Linked DNA regions of Homo sapiens: region 2 is linked to region 1. The links are contacts of gene promoters, found by promoter capture Hi-C in blood cells and fetal thymus (Javierre and others, 2016). All regions are on one chromosome and are shown on one strand. The core of a region is centred on a gene start or on the middle of the fragment in contact, and the rest is flanking DNA. Distances in the headings are between cores, read along the strand shown.

Region 1 (7,447 bases), core at 3,676-6,175:
CTTTACCATTTGATATTTAAGTTCATGATTAGAGCTACTAGTAATTTTCTACCACTCCAAGGAGAAAATTTTAAATGTCACTGTTTGCCTTTGAAGAGAGGGTCCCAGGGTATGGAAACTTGTCTGTTTTCACTGCTTCTGAGGATTACCTGCCCTGGGAAAGGTCACCTTCAAACAAGAAGCTGCCAAACCTCTGCTTACCATGCATAAAATGGTCAACTCTGTTTGCATAATCACCCTTGAAGGGTGATTATGGCAAACCTATGTCTGAAAAAGAAAGGATCTGATTTTCCACATTCACTATTCTTTTTGCATTTTAGGAGTGATCTGAGCAACAGCATTGTCAGGATAATAGAAAAAGACTTAGCGGCCCTAAGCAGCAGTGATGTTTAATGCCCCTATTCATATAAAGTTAAATATAGATACATATTTGAGCCTCACCTTATTTTCCAACTTGTTTTCTTTGTACTTTAATTCCTAATAGCTATAAAGTTCCTGGTCAGAGGAAGGAGTTGGTCTTTACAGAAATGTAGCCCAGTGGAAATCCATGGACCTACCTTGCAAAGGAGAACCCTCTTAGAGTAGGCAGGCGTGTCCTAGACAAAATTGGTTGCAATGGATGAAGTTGGGCTTTTCATAAGGGAAACTCAGTTATTCAAGAAAGAGCAAGCAATGAGGGCTACAGAGGTGGACAGAAACTTGGGAGGCCAACATTCAGGAGCTGTGGATTTCAAAGATGTTACAGGTTGTGGGTTCAGACCTTTCGCAAACCTTGGAACAAGATCTTTTCATCTTCAAGGCTTCTGTTATCCATCTGTAGAACATTCTTTTCCATTTTGAGAGCTAGTTATTTTTGATCGTGTGTGTGTTTATCTGTCTGTCCTCCAGTTCATTTATGAACTTACCTCCCACTTCTTTTAGTCCATGAATCCTAATATACTGCTTATGCATGGTACATATTTGTTGTTGGGGATTGACTATGTGTGTCCTACTTAGGAGAAAGGCTACATCAATTCAAGATGGTCTTATAACTGTGAAAGCCAATGAGTCCTTGAAGTGTGATTGTGGGAAACCTATGTCTGAAAAAGAAAGGATCTGATTTTCCACAGTCACTATTCTTTTTGCATTTTAGGAGTGATCTGAGCAACAACATTGCCAGGATAATAGGAAAAGACTTAACCGCGCAAAGCAGCAGTGATGTTTAATTCTCCAATTTATATAAAGTTAAATATAGATACATATTTGACCCTCACCTCATTTTTCAACTTGTTTTCTTTGTACTGTAATTCCTAATAGCTATAAAGTTCTGCCTTGTGCTAATGTACTTTTATCTTTCCAGAGAAAATGATACTTGTAATAAAGGGATGTTTTTTATTTGAATGGAGAAATACAATTATATAACCTGATAGATTTATTCTATAAAAGTGCTATTCTGCTTTTTGAAGTAGGACAGTGCCTTGGACTAAATGTTTGTGTGTCCCCAAAATTCATATGTTGAAGCCTAATCCCCAATGTGATGGTATTTGGAGGTGGGGCCTTTGGAAGGTAATTAGGTCATGAGGGTGGAAACCCCATGAGTGGGATTAGTGCCCTTATAAAAAGAGACAGAAGAGATGATCTCTCTTCCTCTTGCCTATGTGAAGATACAGTGAGAAGTCATCCATCTGCAAACTAGGAAGAAGGCCCTCGCCAGACACTGGATCCACTGGCAGCTTGATCTTGGATGTCCCAGCCTCCAGAACTGTGGGAAATAAATGTTTGTTATTGAAGCCACCTAGTCTATGGTATTTTTTTTTTTTTTGGCAGCCCGAACTGATTAAGGTAAGCAGCATATCTGATTCTTGTCTGTAATGGAATTTGTTCTAATATCTTTACTTAAATATTTCACTAAAAACAAAGCACTTCAAAGCAGCTTTACAACACTTTTCTGTGGGGACACACTAGACTTCTAAGTATGACATTTGTCAAGCTACCTGAATACAGGTCTGACTCTTGCTTTCTAGCTGGGTGACCTTGGGCAATTTATTTAAATTTTCCAAACTCATTTCCTTTTTTTTTTTTTGTCAAACCAGTATAAAATGTAAGTCCCCTTATTTGTTTCTCTTGTGGGAGTAAATGAGATAGTGCACTCAGGGCCTAGTTATAAGTATTCAATAAACATTTGTCGTTGTTGTTGGGGTAATGATGTGTTGCTTGGTACTGTTGAAGGTGGCAACTCTGTCTAATCTCAGGTCCTCCAAGCCTACCATTCTGTGCTCAGTCACAATAAGTGTTTATTAATGAAATAAAAGAATAAGATAAATATACTCACTAGGTTTTTCTTCTAATATTAGAAGCTTTCAGCCACCTAGTTGATTGAAGATTATTTTTTTCAATTTATAGACTATTTTATAACAGTGATTTTAGATTGACAGAAAAAATGAGCAGAAAGTAGACAGTTCTGAGAGATTCTTTCTCCCCACCCCATACCACCCCTCCCTTTAGTTTTCCCCTATTATTAACATCTTGCATTTGTTTCAATTGATGAGCCAATATTGATGCATTATTATTAACTAAAGCCCATGGTTTCCATTAGGGTTCACTGTTGGCATTTTATATTCTGTGAGCTTTGACAAATGCATTGTCTCATGTATCCACCATTACAGTATCATACAGAAGAGTTTCACTGCCCTAACTGTCCCCTGCACTTCCCCTATTCATCCCTTCCTCCCTTCAGCCCCTGCCAACCTTTCATCCTTTTAGTTTCTGTAATTTTGCTTTTTTCCAGAAAGACATGCAGTTGGAATCACACAGTATGGAGCCTTTTCTGACTGTTTTTTTTTCACTTACACAATATATATTTTATGTGTAAGTTCCTCCATGTTTATTCAAACAAAGCTATGTTTTTACTTAGGAATAAGGCCATTGCTATGGGAATTATCCATTTGGCTAATGTTTCTCTTCTTAGTAAATGCTCACTTAAGAACTAGTTCCTTGTTGAAACCCCTATTCTTAGTCTAATTCATTAATTTAACTGAAAACAGGTACACTTAAAGGGGAATTTTGCATCTTAAGGAGAGGTTAAAAACAATGATTAAAAATGATTAGTAATTAAGTAATTAGTAATTGGTAATGAACTGCTAATTAAAAGTAAAATTCAAGAGTATATGTATACCTTTTTCCTTTCATGATTAATAAGTCCATCATCACTTCCTGGTGGGAGCCTTGATTATACCACAGGCTGTTAGGGACCTGTCAGATTCTCCTAAGGTAACATGAGTTATTACTCATAGCAAACTGGCTGGAAATTCTTTTTTTATTATTACAATTATCTATAACTTAATTGCTTCTGGATGACCTTACTATCACTCCATTCTTGGTCTCTCTTTCTAAGGTCAGGGTAATAGAAAAGAATTATTCATCATAAGTTTTAAAACTCCCCTTTTACTAATCTTGTCTGTCTCCCTGATTGGATCTCTGGAGGATCCTCTTTTTCTCCAGCTTGAGATATGGGGGGAACCCACCCCCAGTATTTCAACGTAGGTTCTTTCTATTTTGCATAAGTGTCAGTCAGCTGAGAAATAAAGAGAAAGAGTACAAAGAGAGGAATTTTACAGCTGGGCTGCCAGGGGTGACATCACATATCGGTAGGACCATGATGCCTGCCTGAGGCTCAAACCAGCAAGTTTTTGTTAAGGATTTCAAAAGGGGAGAGGGTGTAAAACAGTGAGTAGGCACAAAGATCATGTGCTTCAAAGGTCAAAAAGCAAAACAAAGATCACATGCTTCTGAGGGAACAGGACAAAGGCAAAGCAGAACTACTGATAAGGGTCTATGTTCAGCTATGCACGTGTTGCCTTGATAAACATCTTAAACAACAGAAAACAGGGTTAGAGAGCAGAGAACTGGTCTGACCACAAATTTACCAGGGCAGAGATTTTCCCCACCCTAATAAGCCTGAGGGTACTGCAGGAGACCAGGATATACCTCAGTCCTTATCTCAACAGCATAAGACAGACACTCCCAGAGCGGCCATTTATAGACTGCCCCCCAGGAATGCATTCCTTTCCCAGGGTATTAATATTAATATTCCTTGCTAGGAAAAGAATTTAGTGATACCTCTCCTACTTGCACATCCATTTATAGGCTCTCTGCAAGAAGAAAAATATGGCTGTTTTTGCCCAACCCCGCAGGCAGTCAGACCTCATGGTTGTCTTCCCTTGTTCCCTAAAAGTCACTGTTATTCTGTTCTTTTTCAAGGTGCACTGATTTCATATTCAAACACTCATGTTTTACAATCAATTTATACAGTTAACACAATTATCACAGTGGTCCTGAGATGACGTACATCCTTAGCTTACGAAGATAACAGGATTAAGAGATTAAAATAAAGACAGGCATAAGAAATTATAAAAGTATTATTTAGGAACTGATAAATGTCCATGAAATCTTCACAATTTATGTTCCTCTGCTGTGGCTCCAGCTGGTCCCTCCATTCAGGGTCCCTGACTTCCTGCAACAAGGAGATGGGGACAGCACAGATACAGCTGTCTTCATGCCTTCCCAGGAGGCCAGCCCCAGATGAGCAGGCCTCTTCCAGACTTAATTTCCTTGATAATTTTGTGTTCATCTTGTTCCACTAGATACTCTAAGATACAGTTTCTTCTGCAGCCCTTCAGCCTTCCCTCTCAGCTTTTTAAAGTTTATACCCTTCAAGCACTTACAAACAGTATGTCACTCCACTGGTCTTAGTTTAGAAAATGCACAGATATATTTACTTGGCTTTTGGAGTGCTTTTTAAAAAGCCACCTTCCTGGGCCCTTGAACTCTTCATGGACGGGGGAAAGAGAAGTTTCTTCACCAAACTGCCTGAGGCTGGGTGGTTTGGATTTCTTTAAAAGAGCTGTTGTTTCCTTCCTGCTGTCATTTCTGCATCTAATCATGGAGGCAGCTCCTGATCAAAGAGCATTGTACTGGTGAGGCACTCATTCTCCCACATATGGGCTGACCCCCTGGTGCTGAGTGAGTGAGGTGAGCCTGGTCAGAATGGGGTTGGGGGCACCAAGAAAGAGATAGCTCAATGTAGGGCCCTTGTGTCCATGCAAGTTTCATTCACATCCCCAAAGCAGTGTCAAGCCCCTGAAGCCACATCAACTCTCCAATACTAAGCCCCTAGGTTCTTTGAGCAAAGTAGTTGACTAAGAACCAAGAAGAAGATGAAGAATAAACATTAACAATGGCTGAAAATTGAGGTTTTAGGTTTTTTACGAAATACAAAAATGCCAATCACATTTGTATCTGCTGGGGTTTTATCAGAAATCTTCCAGGGGAACTGTGATGGTTAATATTGAGTGTCAACTTGATTGGATTGAAGGATGCAAAGTATTGTTCCTGAGTGTGTTTGTGAGGGTGTTGCCAAAGGAGGTAACATTTGAGTCAGTGCACTGGGAGAGGCTAACCTACCCTCAATCTGGTTGGGCACCATCTAATCAGCTGCCAGTGTGGCTAGAATAAAAGCTGGCCGAAGTTGGAAAATAAGATAAGAACACGTGTTGAGTCTGCCGGCCTTCACTTTTCCCCTGTGCTGGATGCCTTCTGCCCTTGAATATCAGACTCCAAGTTCTTCAGCTTTTGGACTCTTGGACTTACACCAGTGTTTTGCCAGGGGCTCTTAGATCTTCGGCCACAGACTGAAGGCTGCACTGTCAGCTTCCCTACTTTTGAGGTTTTTGGACTCAGACTGGCTTCCTTGCTGCTCAGCTTGCAGACGGCCTATTGTGGGACTTCACCTTGTGATCATGTGAGTCAATACTCCTTCATAAACTCCCCTTCATGTACACATCTGTCCTATTAGTTCTGTGCCTCTAGAGAACCCTGACCAATACAGGAACTAAAAGGGGCTAAGCAGTTCTCAGAACTAACCACTGAGACTTTTCCTCTGGGAACTCTGGGGCACTACAGCTCCTTCTCTTTTGGTCAAAAAAAGTGCAATCATGGCTTCTCTTGTTTATGATTCTTCTAGAAGTTTTATGTCTTTTCTTTCTTTCTTTTTTTTTTTTTCTCTCATCCTCTCTCTTGGAACTCTGCTAGGAAGTAGAAGTGATTATCCACATTCCATAGAAGAAGAAGCGGAGCTCAGAATGGGTAAGTAACTTGGCTGATGTCTCCCAGCTGATATGTGGAGGGGTGTTGGGGTTCCCAAAGAGCCCCTCCTTTCCCTTTCTCTCCTCCTTCTCAATCTGGGGAGGGGTGGGACAGTATCACATGGTTGTGAAGGGAGAACCCCATATGTATGCCATGCTACCAGCTTGCCTCTTCCCTCAGCACTGACTACAAGGTGTGATCATGAGGAATATTCACCGTTTATGCTCATATTGTTCAAGAGAAGACTAAACCAGCAGGCTCAGCCAGAGCATCCCTGGAAACTTACCTGAGCATTATCCATAGTAATTCTTCTGTTTGCTGCTGGGTTTCCTTCATCAATTTTAATCCTTACACCTCTTCTGTAAAAACCATGCTCAACATCCATTCTGTCCATCCTTAGTGGGGCCATTCCCAGGAGCAATGGTTACAACCTACTAACAAATGTGCTTATGCAGATCCTCAAAATAGAGCCAAACCTCCCCACATCTTAGGGCCTGGGAAAGATTTGCACTTTCTCGTTCTATAATGGATGTTATAAGTTGATGTTGATGCCTCACATCAGTTTCCAAATTAATATTTGCTATATGGAGCCTTGCTAATTAATATGAATCTTTGATGAAGTTTCAGATCAGCTATTTGAAATGGGAGGAAGGTAGAAAGCAACTTGCAAATTCTGTGCATAATGAGGTGAGGAACAAGCTCACATAATGAAGTAAACAATTAGGCAACATTTGCATGATTCTTTTTCTTCCAACACAAGACAAGACACAGGGAGCTGATTAGCATTCTGCCTTTGCTGTGAGTCTTGCTTCTTATTTCTCCACCATTTGGGAGGATTCTCAAAGCCAAGCACAGGTAACACTGTTTTGCCAAAATTTTCTTATATTATCCAAGGGACTGCCAGGCAGCAAAGGTTACCCTGCCAAAGTCAACCTGACACAGGTGACTTCTGTTTCTGTAACTTTTCCCTCAGCTGATACACTTGTATCCAGAGAAAGGCCCCAATTTAGGTTCTGACCTCTGAATGCCAACCAGCCAGAGAGTACTGAAAACAGTTATTACTCAACCCCAACATTTACTGAGCGTCTACTATGCCCTAGAGCCTGTGCTAGAGGTGAAGATAAAAATGAATAGGTGAATGTCCTGCTGCCTTTGAGGTATCCTCTGCCCACTGGAGGAAGAAGCATTAAAGACAACATTTATGGTGAGCACTCTGCAGGTACAGAGGAGGGAATCTACCTCTGGTCGGGGAAGGAGGAAGGGTTCGAGAAAAGCTCCCAGAGGAGGCAATGCCTGCCATGAGACTGGAAAGAGGATCAGGAGC
Region 2 (7,447 bases), core at 3,550-6,049, 230 kb after region 1:
GAATCACAGCTCACTGCAGACTTGAACTCCTGGGCTCAAGCAATCCTCTTGCCTCAGCCTCCTGAGTAGCTAGGACTACAGGCACATGCCACCACACCTGGCTAATTTTTATAAATTAAATTAAAACCGCAATTACTTTTGCACCGACCTAATTTTTTTTTTTTTAAGAAATGATGTCTCACTATGCTGCCTAGGCTGGTCTCAAACTCCTGGCCTCAAGCTATCCTCCCATCTCAGTCTCCCAAAGCACTGGGATTACAGGTGTGAGCCACTGCACCTGGCTCTCAATAGATAGTTTACAAAGCAGTTAATATAAATATGAAGGGAAAATTAGTGAACTGGGAAACCAACCTGAGGGAGTACCCTGAAGACAGCACACAGAAACAAAGCAAAACAAAGGCCTAATGTATTTATTCATATTCCTGAAAAAGAAAAAAGAAATGGCAGGGCAAATACTCAAAATGAGAAAGACTAATAATGTTAATGAAAGACATAAACCCTCTGGTTCAGGAAAGAGAAATCCTGAGTATGGTAAATACAAAGAAATCCACAGTTAGAACTATTTTGGTGAAACCACAGAACCCGAAGACACTGCGAAGACCTTGGATGAAGCCACAGAGAAAACAGAAGTAAGTAGACAATGAGATAGAGTTTTGGGTGCAAAATGTTTATTAGGGATCAACTCCCAGGAGAGGAAAAGGGTGGAAGGAGAACTGAGCAGAGGGAGAAATCACACTGTGATGTGGCCTGACAAGGCCTCAGCCAACCCAGCAGGGAGCTCAGAGGAAAGAGTAACCTTTCAGAGTGTCCTGCACTGGGCTGAAACGGGTGGCCAGGTCTGTCTATCCCTGCCACGCTCAGTTGCAGAAGGCAGGTATTCCATAGAACATGAGTTCAGGGGAAGCAGTTCTCTGCAGCTGAGACAGATCTGAAAAGAGCTGACAGGTAGAGGCTGTGTGATGGTCACAGTCCTCCCCATCTGGACAGGAAGTGCCTCCTGGAAGAGGGATCTGGGAGGCACATCTCTGCATCTAACATAGGAGTAATCTACATGGAATGACAATTCAACTGACAGATTTTTTAGCAGCAGCAAGAAAACAAAACAAAATAAAACAAAAGATAATGGGATAATATCCTCAAAGAACTGAAAAAAAACAAAAAACAAAAAAGAAAAACTGGCAGCCTGGATTTCAAATCCAGCCAACTTACCATTCAACAGTGAGGGTGAAATAAAGCCACAGGAACAAAGACTACAAGTGTTTACTACTAATTGACCCTCACCAACAAAACTACTAAAAGATGTGTTTCAGGAAGAAGGAAAATGAACCAAAAAGGAAGGGCCGAAATGTAAGGAGTGATGAGCAAAGAAATATATAACCATATGTCCAAATTTCACTATATAAAATAGTGTTTTGAAGATGATTAATCTGTAGTGCCTAAAAACAAGATGGAACTAAAACTCAGGAAAATAGTAGTGTTTATGAAAAAGAGTGTCGTCAGAGTTAAACCATTCAAAAATTCATATATTTGATAGGAGAAGGGTAAAGTTGTTTAACTTTAGATTTAAGTCAATTATGCTGTCAACACTTAAAGGATCACCCCAGAAGGATAGAAATTTCCAAACCATAGGAAGTTAAGGTTAAAATGTAAAAGAAAACTCAAGCGAGCTATTAAAATGTAGGAGCAGAGGAAAAAATAGAAATAGAAAAGTCCAGGTAGACAGATAGCACAAAATAAGATAGAAATAAATTCAATACATCAGTAATTACAATAAATATAATCTAACTGTATTAATTAAAAGTCAGATATTGGCAGTTTTCATATAAAAAACAAATCAACAACAAAATTCAGATATATATTGCTTAAAGAGACATATAGCTAAAGCAAAAGGATGCAAAGAGGTTGGAAACAAAAAAATGAAAAAAGATGTACCAGGTACACACTAACCAAGAACAATATAGCTATAGTGTCATTGAAAGCATTTTCAGGAATAAAGATGTTCGCTATGTTATAATAAAAAGATAAAAGGAAAACACCACCAGGAAGATTCAGCAATTCAAAATGTTATGCTTTTAATATTAGAGCATCAAATACAGAATGGGAATTTATAATCAAAGTAGAAAGTTTCAACACATCTTTCAGTAACTGATAGATCAAGAAAACACAAAATTAGTAAGAACATGGAAGATTTAAATAATAAAGTTAAGAAAATACCATTGTGGTTATGTCTTCACTGGTCTAAAACCTTCCATGACTCCCTATTGCCTATAGCATCAAATTGAAATTCTTCTTCTTGATCCTAAAGTTGCACCACAGTTGGCACCATCCTGACCATTTGCCAAGCCTATTTCTTACCTGTCCCCAATACAAATCATCTATTCTAGGCAAATCAAATTGCTAGTGAACCAGAAAGAAGAAGCTTTATGATGTAGTGTTTATGTGCATGGACTCTGAGATCGGACTGCAAAGGTTCAAATCCTGATTCTACAAACTATTAACTGCATAGTAACTTAATAACTTAATCTTTATGACCCTCAGTCTTCTCATCTATAAGATGAGGATATTGATAACATCTACCTCTTAGGCCTGTTGTGGGATTTATAAAGACAATCAGTGACTGACATATTATACTTGCCATAAGAATTAGCTACATCCCTTTATTCATATTGTTACCATCTACTGGAATGCTCCTTTCCTTCTCCTATCTATTAAAACTCAGGCTCCAAAGCCAACTCAGGAACTTCCTCTTTCATAAAGCCTTCACCAGTTACTCCCTCCAGCCTTCATTTATCTCCCTCTCCTACAATACAGTAGTTCTTAACCTTGTGAAAGAGGGATAGGGAGTCACAGATGCCACTGAGAATCTGATGGGAAAAAATCTTCTATTCATAAAAATGCACATGCATACACACATTTGCATAAAACTTCAAGGGATTCATGTCCCTCTGAAGCTCACCCATGGAACCCCAATTACAAACATCTGACTTCAAGTCTATGCTTCACCATCACCTACCCTGTTCTCCTGAGGCCATCTTAACAAAAGTACGGACAGCTAACAAGGAGCTGGAAGAGGCACAGAGAGAAGCTGGTGAAGCTCACTTCATACATAAGGAAATTCACAGAGAGATAAAGTGACTGGCCAAAGCCATATACAACTATGGAGTGACAGAGATGGAGCTGGAGGCTGTCTCCTGACTACCCCTATAGAGTTCTTTGCAAGTGTGCTTGATGAACTAATCTCCAACTCACAGAACTCTAAAACTAAGAAATCATGTTAGCCCATTTTTCAGGTGGGGTGATGATCCCTTAGGGAATTTGTCTCCAGGTAATCAGGCCAAAAGTCCCAAGACTCATACTCAGAATAATAATTACTAAACATACTAGTAGTGTTTGGTTTTTGTTTTCTTTTACTTTACTTCCTTGTATTAACATTTCCTCACTAACTTTCTCTGAAGCAATATCAAACTAGGAAGCACAAACCTGTCCCAATGTTATTATTTGGGGAAGGTAATTTTGAAGCTGTCTTTAAAACTTGTCTGTAACTGTAACAATCAAAGGACATCATCAGTTCTAGATCTTGAGCTAGAAAAGAGATAGTCAATCCACAATCTTTCCATTCTCAGATTCAACTTTATAAACATAAATATTTTATAAATATCTCCTCTATCTTCTTCTCTATGACATTTTTCCAGAACAAGTAACAAACAATAAAATGGACTATACGCTGCCCATTCTCTCTTTAAGGGCAAGCAAAGAAAAAAGAAAAGAATTACAAATAAGCTATGAAACACAATAATCAGCCTCCACATAATTAAAAACTGATTGACATCTGTATAGTCACAGACTCCTTGTGCACACAGGAAGCTGTTTCACTAAGTGAAATCATACAATCAGCCTAGGAAATGAGATAAATGACTCAGAAAGAGGGGGAGGTTTGTAAAATGAGATATACTGGAAAAAACTTTAATCAACAACTAGGAAAGAAAGCACTTTATAAGAAAACAACATTGGAGCACCTGAAGTATGTAGGTTTGAAACAAAAGAAAAGGATCATAGAGATGAATTGCAAAGGCCACCTCTTCAAAACCCTTCATTCTCAAGATAAATAAGGGGAAGCCTGAGACCTAAACTTTGTTTCCTTTGAAATTCACAGGCTTTCCAGGGAAGAAAATCCAGGATACACCATAAGAAGTCAGCTTCCTCAGCTAAAAATTCACAGTATTTTGGATAATGAGGCAAGGGAAATAAACATTAGGAAATGCAAGGAACATTATTTATACATTCTAAATAAGTCCTATTTAGGCCTGGGGGAAAGCACCTATGCTACAAGCAACTGAATCTTCTGCATCCCCAAGCGGCCCAGGGAGCTGACAAGACTGGTGCACTCTCAGTGGCTGACAAGTACACAGTGACACCTACTTGCCACTAAGAGGTTCTTTCCTTTGCTGTCTTCCTTTGGCAAATAAAAACACTTCAAAAAGGAAAAGTGTAGGCTACAGAACTGACCACATATGTGGTCAGAGTTTTGGTTTTTCTATCCATTGTTTTCACTTTTCACGGATGTGTTCTAAAAAATAATGGGTTAATAATGTTTAGAAATAATTCATGGTTAAGAAGGGCCAGGAATTTGTGTTTATTCGGCATAATCACAACTTCATAACTTCCCTGTGTATTCTTAATATTGCTCTAGTGGGAAGTTTAAAAGAAAGATTTGATTGGCAGTCACTTCATTTAGAAAGGATTGATATTTCATACATGGTCTATGACTACAAAGGCAAATTGAAGGCTGCATGGCAACAAGGTTGCTTTCCTTAGGGGAAAGGTATTCCGGACTCAGCTGCCTCGTCTGGAGTAAATCTACTCTAAAGCAATTTACAAAAACTGTTCAGGTGTTACTGATTAATAAAAACCTAAAAGGATTTTTTACTCATTGTAACTTTAAATTCATAAATTAAAATGTAATTAAAATGATAGATTAATAAGCAGATCTAAATATTCTGTTATTAGATTCTTTGAGTGCAAATATCCCTAAAATTCTGGAAATTCAGCTTTCCATTTTATATCAGTCTTTCATCCATGTAGCTGATCTGCTTATAGAAGTAAAATCTAAAGACCAATACCAATCTCATTCTCTTAGGATACAATGATGATGTTTTATGAATAAAAACTATCAGCTAGTGGTGCTTACTTACAGGTGGTAATAAGATTGTGGCAAATGCAAAAAGCTGCATCTAGCAATTTTTGGAAAATAAAAACCATTGTGTCTTTTACAGCATTGGAGCTCAGAAAAACAATGCCCCAAAGTAAGGTGCTTTGATATGCTGAGTACTTTGAGCCGAAGGATACTGGAAGGACCCTAGAAACAAAGTCTCTCTCTGGGCTTCTCCTGCCCTCCTGTCTCCTGGTCCCCCTTCTACCCTAAGGCAGGCCATAGAAATCAGAATTCCTCTGCCCCACAGTGGGTCATAGAAACTAAACATATTTCTCTCAACTTCCATTGCCTTTCTGCATATGAGCTGGCCATAAAGAAATTCTCTGGTCTACCTTGTCTGATAGTAGATCATAAAACCCTTATTCCAGAAGGGGTCCTGCTCTATACCAGGGAGGAAGGAATGCCACACAGAGAGGCCAAGAAGAATCCAAATAGTCAGGCCTTGCTGGGTTGTTCCCCTTCAATCTATTACATTAGATTATTTCCTTTTTGTCCAATCCCATTTTTACATGGTTGTCCACTCCTCATTGAATCTAAGCATAAAAATGGACAGTTTTCCCTTGGGTCTTTGAGTCTTCATTGTGAATGCTTCCGTGTCACGCAAAATTCTGACTGAATAAATTTGCCGTGCTTTTGTCTTGTTAACCTGTCTTTCATTATAGGAGTGTCAACCATGACAACCCCCCTCCTTTTTCTTTCTTTCTTTCTTTTTTTTTGAAATGCTCCATTGGCCAGGCTGCAGTGCAGTGGCCCAATCTCGGCTCACTGCAACCTCCAACCTCCCAGGTTCAAGCGATTCTCCTGCCTCAGTTTCCCAAGTAGCTGGGATTACAGGCGCCCGCCACCACGACTGGCTAATTTTTGTATTTTTAGTAGAGAAAGGGTTTCGCCATGTTAGCCAGGCTGGTCTCAAACTCCTGACCTCAGGTGATCTGCCCACCTCGGCCTCCCAAAGTGCTGGGATTATAGGCATGAGCCACCACTCCCGGCAGCCATGACCCTTTTGAGGGCTGAGGAAAGGTATCACAGCATTTTCACCCTGCAACAGAGACCAAAACAACTTAAATCAGTTCCAAAAGTCTACCATCAATTTTACTATCCTAAAATCCAAAGTTCTTTATAGGTGAATGTACAATATTTCGTCGTTTTTCTATCTGCTTCTACATTAACTACACAAAATGCTGTATCTTCTTTGTTCCTCTTTAAAATAAAATAATAAACTTTTAGTACAGGTTTCTCACTAAGACTGAAATACATAAATACAAGTTTTGTCTATGATTAAGAAATTTTTTTCTTTTAAGTACTTCCAAATTAAAATCTCAAATCAGTAAAAATGAGCCATGTGGAAATAATGTAAGCATTTCAAGGGCCCTTTTCTCCTATTTTATCAAATTACTGGCACACTGAATTTCCTAGACAAAAATACTTTTATAAACTATGCTCACAGCAGGATTAAAGAATGGTTGAATCATCCCTAACAATTTCCGCTACCAAAAAGAGGCAACTGAAAAAACAGACATTTAGAAAGTAAATCCAAGTTAATGTGGCATCAAAGAATGAAAAGGAAATTTCTTACAAAAATGTTTTACTGACCAAAGTAGTTATGTTTTGAGGGAACATGAAAGGTATTGCTTTCATGGCTTTAACCTTCTTATTCCTGCTTTGGGAAAAACTCTCCCTTCCAGGTTCACTTTACAATAATTGCTGCTTTTTCTGCCCTGCACCTCACCTCACTTTTCCCTTTCTTGAGGAATGTTCTTAAGGCTCTAGAGAGAGCTAAGATAGAAAATAAGAGTGGGAAAGAAATACTTGGAAAACAAGCATAAGGAGGACTATCATGACATGTGACTACAAAAAAAGTTGCTTGGGGCCAGATCATAAACATCCAAGACCAAGAATAGTCATTATTTCATTAAGGAGAAAGGAGGGTCTTTGAGAAGAGTGATTTGGCCAGATGCACAAAAGGTAAAGCTTCAGGACTGCCCTGAAAAGAGTATGGAAGCAGGAAATGTTGGGATGCTCCTAGGATGGTTCCCAGGATATCAGTCAGGGCAGCAAACAGGCAGTGGTCAAGCTGGGTAATTTAAGAAAGATAAACAAAGAATACTTGCAGAGATGTGGGCAGTTTAAGGAAACTGACAATAACGGTAGTGCTGCATTAGCAGAGAACTATAATCACTCCTAGGCCTGCAGCAACCAAGGGAGCAGCTAGAGGAGCAGGAGGAAGATGGCTGC

The links. The method cuts DNA at HindIII sites, captures the fragments that hold promoters and counts their contacts. A CHiCAGO score of 5 or more calls a contact.
Region 2: a contact is called between a fragment that was not itself captured here and the fragment with the promoter of LINC00967 in region 1, in 1 of 17 cell types (M2 macrophages). The highest score is 5.1, in M2 macrophages.

What each region holds. Positions count from the first base shown.
Region 1 is chr8:66,187,189-66,194,635 of GRCh38, forward strand. It overlaps LINC00967 (long intergenic non-protein coding RNA 967), which reads left to right and starts at 4,926. Exons shown (of 3, transcript NR_039979.1): 1 at 4,926-5,779; 2 at 6,070-6,123. LOC124901954 (a long non-coding RNA gene) reads left to right here. Exons shown (of 2, transcript XR_007060948.1): 2 at 1,644-1,773. The HindIII fragment of the contact is 5,384 bases long and covers 2,335-7,447 here.
Region 2 is chr8:66,417,532-66,424,978 of GRCh38, forward strand. RRS1-DT (RRS1 divergent transcript) reads right to left here. Exons shown (of 3, transcript NR_040434.1): 3 at 2,056-6,251. The region is part of intron 1 of LOC102724687 (a long non-coding RNA gene); the gene reads right to left. Among named protein-coding and RNA genes, the nearest start is that of RRS1-DT, 7.7 kb to the right of the region's middle. The HindIII fragment of the contact is 4,764 bases long and covers 2,418-7,181 here.